Linked DNA regions of Homo sapiens: region 1 is linked to region 2. Evidence: promoter capture Hi-C in human tissues and cell types (Jung and others, 2019). All regions are on one chromosome and are shown on one strand. Each heading gives the region's core, a stretch centred on a gene start or on the middle of the fragment in contact. The rest is flanking DNA. Distances are from core to core; before and after follow the strand shown. Region 1 holds the start of ACOT6 (acyl-CoA thioesterase 6). Region 2 has its middle 16 kb from the start of NUMB.

The links. The method cuts DNA at HindIII sites, captures the fragments that hold promoters and counts their contacts. A contact is called where the count stands out against the background at its distance.
Region 1: a contact is called between the fragment with the promoter of ACOT6 here and a fragment that was not itself captured in region 2, in 4 of the 25 tissues and cell types used here (IMR-90 fibroblasts, adrenal gland, lymphoblastoid cells and 1 more).

What each region holds. Positions count from the first base shown.
Region 1 is chr14:73,610,409-73,613,783 of GRCh38, reverse strand. It overlaps ACOT6 (acyl-CoA thioesterase 6), which reads right to left and starts at 1,267. Exons shown (of 3, transcript NM_001365788.1): 1 at 752-1,267. The coding sequence starts at 1,212. It also overlaps a transcript of HEATR4 not described here. RefSeq lists enhancers at 1,007-1,056, 590-1,089, 1,107-1,156. The HindIII fragment of the contact is 22,654 bases long and covers 1-3,375 here.
Region 2 is chr14:73,472,674-73,476,508 of GRCh38, reverse strand. No RefSeq gene overlaps it. Among named protein-coding and RNA genes, the nearest start is that of NUMB, 16 kb to the right of the region's middle. The HindIII fragment of the contact is 5,447 bases long and covers 1-3,835 here.

The DNA of each region.
Region 1 (3,375 bases), core at 18-2,517, 140 kb before region 2:
ACCTCAGTAGTACAGACATTTTCAGCAAGATAATTCTTTGTTCTGGTGGTTGTCCTGTGCATTGTGGAATGTTTAGCAGCATCTCTGGCCTCTGCCTGCTAGATGCCAATAGCACCTCTCCCTTCAGATATGACAACCACAAATGTCTCCAGATATTGCCAAATTTCCCCCAGGGAGGGCGGCTAATCATTGCAGGTTGAGAACCACGTACAGCATGTTTATGATAGAAGGGAGAGGACTGTCAGGCAGTTTTGTGTGTGTTTTTAAACAATTAAAGGGCATTGCCAATACTGTGGATTTTAGCTTCTTTGGAAGTTTGATGTGAAAGGAGGCAAAAATCCTTCTTGCACATCAGCTTAAGGTTTTGCCCATATCGTATTCAAACAAAACCACATGGCTGGCACATAGTGGCTCTCAATAAATATATAATAAGTTGAATGCACTATTCAGCACATAGCTAAAGTGGTGGTGCCTCCAGGGAGGGACGTGAAACTTAAAAAGGAAAGACTGGAGTAGCTACTCAGGAGGCTGAGGCGAGAGGACTTGAGCCCAGGAGTTCGAGGCTGCAGTGTGAGCTACGATCCAGCCACGGCACTCCAGCCTGGGCAACAGCGGACGCCCAGACTCAGAATCCATGACAGACTCTGGAGCGAAGGAACAAGTTCAGGGATGTTCCACAATCACGCGATTCCCAGGACAGGAAAGGGGCCGGTGGGGGTCGCAGAGCTCGACCAAATTCTGGGCAGACTACTCATCCGGCGGCAGGAAGAGCGCGGCGCGCACCGGGCCCGCGCGCACCGGCTCGCGCCGCACCCCCGGCCGGAGAAAGTCGCGCTTGTTCTGCGCCAGGCACAGCAGCCGCCCGGGCTCGGTGTCGTGGCCGTCCAGCACTTCCAGCTCCACGGCGAAGGGCGTCCGCACGTCGCGCTTCACCAGCCGCACCAAGGCTTTCTCGGGCTCCAACGCCCACAGCAGCCCCATGGGCTGGAGCCCCGCGAAGCTGCCTCCCAGCGCGGGCGCGCGCTCCAGGTCCAGCTCGTCGCGGGCGTCGGCACGGTAGCGCGCGTGGGCCCGGAAGAGCGCGCCCTCTTCGTCGCGCAGGGACGTGCGCAGCGTGACTGGCTGCTCCGGGGCCAGGCCGCGCACTGCGATGCGCAGCGGCTCGTCCCAGCAGCAGCGGCCCGCGGGCTCCAGGATCAGCGTCGCTGCCATCCCAATCTGGGTAGAACAGGGGCGACCCAGCTCCGCGGAGTCAGTGGGCGGGCCTGGCGGCTTTGCCGAGCGCTGGAAAGTAGTCGAGGGCGGAGCCCTTAACACTACTCCCATTGGTTGGACTTGGGGACAGGCTCCAGGCCGCTGCGTGGGGCGCCTAGAATTTGTGCAAATACACCAGTGTCCCAAATGAAAGAGTATCTGCTGAAATAAGAGTTAATGACCAATCCGGCCGGGGGCGGTGGATCACGCCTGTGATCCTAGAACTTTGGGAGGCCGAGGTGGGTGGATCACACCTGAGGTTAGGAGTTCAAGACCAGCCTGACCAACAGAGTGAAACCTCATCTCTACTGAAAATACAAAATAGCCAGGTGTGGTGGCGCATGCCTGTAATCCCGGCTACTTGGGAGGCTGAGGCAGAAGAATTGCTTGAACCCAGGAGGCAGAGGTTGCATTGAGCCAAGATTGCACCATTGTACTCCAGCCTAGGCAACAAGGGCAAAACTCCGTCTAAAAAAAAAAAAAAAGAGTTAATGACTATTCCTGCAATCCAATGTGGTGAGTGTCGAAATAGAGGCACAAAAACCACTGAGAGCTAAAGGATTGAGAGAGATACAGTCCAAGAATCTAGATTTTGAAAAAGCATCCCAGGTGATTGTACTCAGGTGACCCCTTGGAGAAACATGGTCGTAATCCGTCCTTTACCCCTCAGTCCCTTACCAAGCCTTTTTTCCAGGGCTAATGGTACCTGGAGCAAAGCAGATGTTTAGGGAGGCAGACCTAGCCGAGTTCTGGTCTGACCCTGATCCTTAATATTAATACCTGGTGATCTTTAGCAAGAAACATAACCCTCTAAATTCAGTTTTCTTATCTGAAAAGGCTTATTGTGACCATTAAATGGGCTAATGTGTAAAAACACTACACTGACACACCTGTAGGTTAGTACCCAGTGAAAGTTTTGTTTTGTTTCTTACCTCACAAATCTAATCACTGGCAGAGTCCATTTTGGGTTGTATGCATACAGAGTTCTGGCAGTAAGCAAGTGGCACTCTCAGCCTGTGTAATTGAGGAGAGTTTTATAAAGGTACTATCTACAAAGGCATGGGCAAGATTTAAAAACAAAAACAATGAAACAAGATTCGGTGTAGAACCCTGAATCTGAAGGTTCAAGGGAAGGGGGCAGTCTGATAGGAGTTGTACCTTTTTTAGAAGGAACCTATGGTTTGTGGCAGGAAGGAGGAGACTATAAGTCCCTTGACTCTCCTCTTGTTTTTCAGTATCTTGCTAATGCCTCTCTTTGGCCAAACCCAACCACACAGCTCAACCTAGCTGGGAACATAGCAGGGTGGAGAAGGAAGAAGAGCATATAGTGATGCCCAGCTCAGTAAACATGTATAAACTGAACAAAAAGGTATTAGACTCTATGAAGCAAGTTCACTGTATGCTGGTTACCAACTTGTCTGAGTCCAGTGAGAAAACACATTCATATATTTAATACAACAATTTACATGAACTGGATTTATTACTTACAGATAGGCAGCAAAGAATGACAGAAGCCTAAGAATCATTGGAAACCAGTCCCCCAAGGCTCAGGAATGCTGCCTGGGTGATGGAATCTCATGTGTGTGTGCCCCACTTGCACTGCAGCTGCCCTGAGTTTTGTACTCTGGGGTCATGTGACTGCTGGGTTAAAGCATTGAAAGACATCCTGTTTGTAGGGAGGGGCTGGAATAGAGCCAGGGCTATTCCAGCCAGTCCGTCCCTCTCTCAGGATGTTACATTCCCAGCACGTTCTATGCTTGAGAACTACTAGTGAGAAAGAGGGGAGAACTGAGTCAGTCCAAGGCCAACCAGAGAACTGCCCTGCAGTCCATCCCCAACCCAGATACCTCCTTTAGTAAACCTAGTACATTTCATATGCCCTCCAGACCCCCAGGATCTGGAGGCAGAGGTTTGTCTGATCATATTAATATGGCACCTTGGTCGGGCACGGTGGCTAATGCCTGTAATCCCAGCACTTTGGGAGGCCGAGGGGGGCGGATGACTTGGGGTCAGGAGTTTGAGACCAGCCTGGCCAACATGGTGAAACCCTGTCTCTACTAAAAATACAAAAATTAGCTGAACGTGGCAGCACGCGCCTGTAATCCCAGCTATTCAGAAGGC
Region 2 (3,835 bases), core at 25-2,524:
AGAACCTTTCAAAGACAATATGCTTAATTTAGTGAGAATTGTGTGGTATACAGCAGATGTGCTGTAGGAGTTCAGGGAAGGGGGGCAGGAGTCGTCATGGAGACATGGGAATTTGTGTTGGATCTGAGATGGCACAAGATTTAGGCAGAGAGGAGGAGAGAGGACCTTCCAGGTAAGGGGAGGGATGGGAGAAAAGGCTGGGGGAAGGAAGGAGCTCAGCAAGGGTCCATGACAGCTCCTTTCCCCTCTCCTGTTTCCACAGTGGTTCCCAAGTTTCTTCACAACAGAAAAGCAGGCATCTGCTCTCCTTACTATCACGGTTTTGTTTCTTTGTGTTTTGTGTTTGTTGTTGTTGTTGTTGTTGTTTTTGAGACGGGGTCTCACTCTGTTGCCCATGCTGAAGTGTGGTGGTAAGATCTTGGCTCACTGCAACCTCAACCTTCTGGGCTCAAGTGACTCTCCCACCTCAGCCTCCTCAGTAGCTGGGACCACAGGCATGCACCACAACGCCTGGCTAATTTTTATATTTTTTGTAGAGATGGGGTCTCGCTATGCTGCCTAGGCCAGTCCCAAACTCCTGGGCTCAAATGATCTGCCCTCCTAAAGTGCTGGGATTACAGGCTTGAGCCACTGTGCCCAGCCATGTTTTTGTTAATCTTTTTTTTTTTTTTTTTTTTGAGATGGAGTCTCGCTCTGTTGTCCAGGCTGGAGTCGGGGTGGCATGATCTCGGCTCACTGCAACCTCCGCCTCTCAGGTTCAAGAGATTCTCCGCCCCAGCCTCCTGAGTAGCTGGGATTACAGGCGCATACCACATGCCCAGCTAATTTTTTGTAATTTTAGTAGAGACGGGGTTTCACCATGATGGCCAAGCTGGTTTCGAACTCCTGACCTCAAGTGAATCCGCCTGCCTTGGCCTCCCAAAGTGCTAGGATTATAGGTGTGAGCTACTGCGCCCAGCCTTGTTAATCTATTAACAAAATGTTATAATGACAAAATACTCCAGAAGTTCCACAAATCCTTTTATAAAGGGCCCTACCTGTCCTTCCTGGCTGAGGCATTTACAGGTGATTCTCACTTCTCACAAAGATAAATGTGTCAGGTGTTTCCTTTTCATTGCTCCTTTTGTCATCTTTCCTCTCCCTTCCTTCTGCCATACTCATTAACTCCACTGGTTGATTAGACAAGGGACTGATCCCTATCCTGCCGTAAAAGAAAGCTTCTGTTTGGACCAGCATGTGGGAGAAACATGCTGACCTTGCCTTAGTCAGGATCTAGAGAAATTTTTCATTTTTCAATCAAGGTTCATGTTTCCATTGGTTTACACGTTCCATCTAAGTTACCATCCCCCTTGTGAACCACGTCAGCCAGACCAACAGCAAAGTGGGGGTTGTGGGTCAGAAGGAAATCACCTGTGTTAGAATTTCCTCTCCCCTACCCTCACCCTGTCCCATCATTTCTTTGTTTTCTTTTTTTTTAAGGGACAGAGTTTCTCGCTCTTTCATCCAGACTGGAGTGCAGTGTTATGACCTTGGCTCACTACAACCTCCACCTCTGGTTTTCAAGTGATTCTCGCGCCTCAGCCTCCTGAGTAGCTGGGATTACCTGTGTGAGCCACCACACCCGGCTAATATTAATATTTTTTTAGTAAAGACAGGGTTTCACCATGTTAGCCAAGCTGGTCTCAAACTCCTGGCCTCAAGTGATCCACCTGCCTCAGCCTCCCAAAGTGCTGGGATTACAGGCATGAGCCACCCGCACCCAGCCTTCCCATCTTTTTTTTTTTTTTTTTTTTTTGAGCCGGAGTCTGGCTCTGTCGCCCAGGCTGGAGTGCAGTGGCGCGATGTCGGCTCACTGCAAGCTCCGCCTCCCGGGTTCACGCCATTCTCCTGCCTGAGCCTCCCGAATAGCTGGGACTACAGGCGCCTGCCACCGCGCTCAGCTAATTTTTTTGTGTTTTTAGCAGAGACGGGGTTTCACTGTGTTAGCCAGGATGGTCTCGATCTCCTGACCTCGTGATCCGCCCGCCTCGGCCTCCCAAAGTGCTGGGATTACAGGCGTGAGCCACCTCGCCCGGCCTCCCATCATTTCTTGATGGGCTATATTGTCAGCAAACATTTACCAAATACATAATTAGTAGTCATCATGGATATGCCAGCAAATATCACGTGGTTTTTCTGACTTTGGGGATTTGTTGTCTAATTGGATAAAATGGGCTTTTCTTGTTGGAGGCAGCAACAGAGCCTTTCAGAGGTCAAGAGCAAGCTGGTTACTCTTTTTTTTTTTTTTTTTTTTTTTTGAGACGGAGTCTTTGTTGCCCAGGCTGGAGTGCAGTGGCACGATCTCGGCTCACTGCAAACTCCGCCTCCCGGGTTCACGCCATTCTCCTGCCTCAGCCTCCCGAGTAGCTGGGACTACAGGGGCCCGCCACCAAGCTCGGCTAATTTTTTGTATTTTTGTAGTAGAGACGGGGTTTCAACGTGTTAGCCAGGATGGTGTCAATCTCCTGACCTCATGATCTGCCGGCCTCGGCCTCCCATGGTGCTGGGATTATAGGCGTGAGCCATCGCGCCCGGCCTCGTTACTCCTTTTTGAGACCCCAGTTATATTTTTAAAAATGAAGTGCCAAAACTCAATTTTAAAAAGTTTTGGTAGATTTTTAATGTGTATGCTTAAGGTTTTTGTTTGTTTGTTTTTGAGACAGAGTCTTGTGTCGCCCAGGCTGGAGTACAGTGGCACAGTCTTGGCTCACTGCAACCTCCACCTCCCAGGTTCAAGCCATTCTCCTGCCTTAGCCTCCTGAGTAGCTGGGATTACAGGTACCCACCACCATGCCCAGCTAATTTTTGTATTTTTAGTGTAGACGGGGTTTTGCCATGTTGGTCAGGCTGGTCTCAAACTCCTGACCTCAAGTGATCCACTCGCCTTGGCCTCCCAAAGTGCTGAGATTACAGGCATGAGCCACTGCACCTGGGCAAGTTATCATTTTTTAACACAAACAATTACAATGAGTTTCTTTTGAAATAATTTTTAAAAAATTGAAATTGACATGAATGTTCATAGCAACATAGGGAGACCCCCGTCTCTACAAAACATAAAAATACCAGCCTGAGCAACATGGCAAAACCCCATCTCTACAAAAAATACAAAGATAGCTGGGCATGGTGGCATGCACCTCTGGTCCCAGCTGAGCCCAGGAGTTCAAGGCTGTAGTGAGCTGTGATCATGCCACGGCATTCCAGCCTAGGCAACAAAGCAAGACCTTGTCTTAAAAAAAAAGAATCCAGAGAGAGGATCAGGCAGTTAGTGCCTTCATTAGACCACACTATCCCATCAACACCAAACTGTTGTTTGGAGGGCTTCAGCTCACAGCACCATGCAATTTCCTAACGCTTCTGAGTTTGAGACTCCCCTAGACAGAAGCTAAGTGGAGCACATCAGACTTCCAAAAGCCTCTGCAAAGCAACGTGGTATTGTGGGAAAATGGTAGATGCAAGTTCAAATAACCTACTGCTAATAATAAATGTGTGACTTTGTGAAAATTACTTTATCCTTCTGACTTTTACTTTCATCATTTGTAAAACGAGAAGAAGACTATCTCATGGGTCTCTTGCATGTGGTTCCCAACCAGGCTGCATGTTAAAATCGCAGTTTAAAAATGTGACAGCCTGAGTCACACCTCCTGCAAGTTAAATTGGTGTCTCCAAGGGTGAGATCCAGACACCAGTAGATTTTTAAAGCTTCACACGTCATTCTAATCTGCATCCAGGATTGAAAATCACTCGTGAAGCCAGGTGCGGTCGCTCACGCCTGTAATCCTAGAACTTTGGGAGGCTG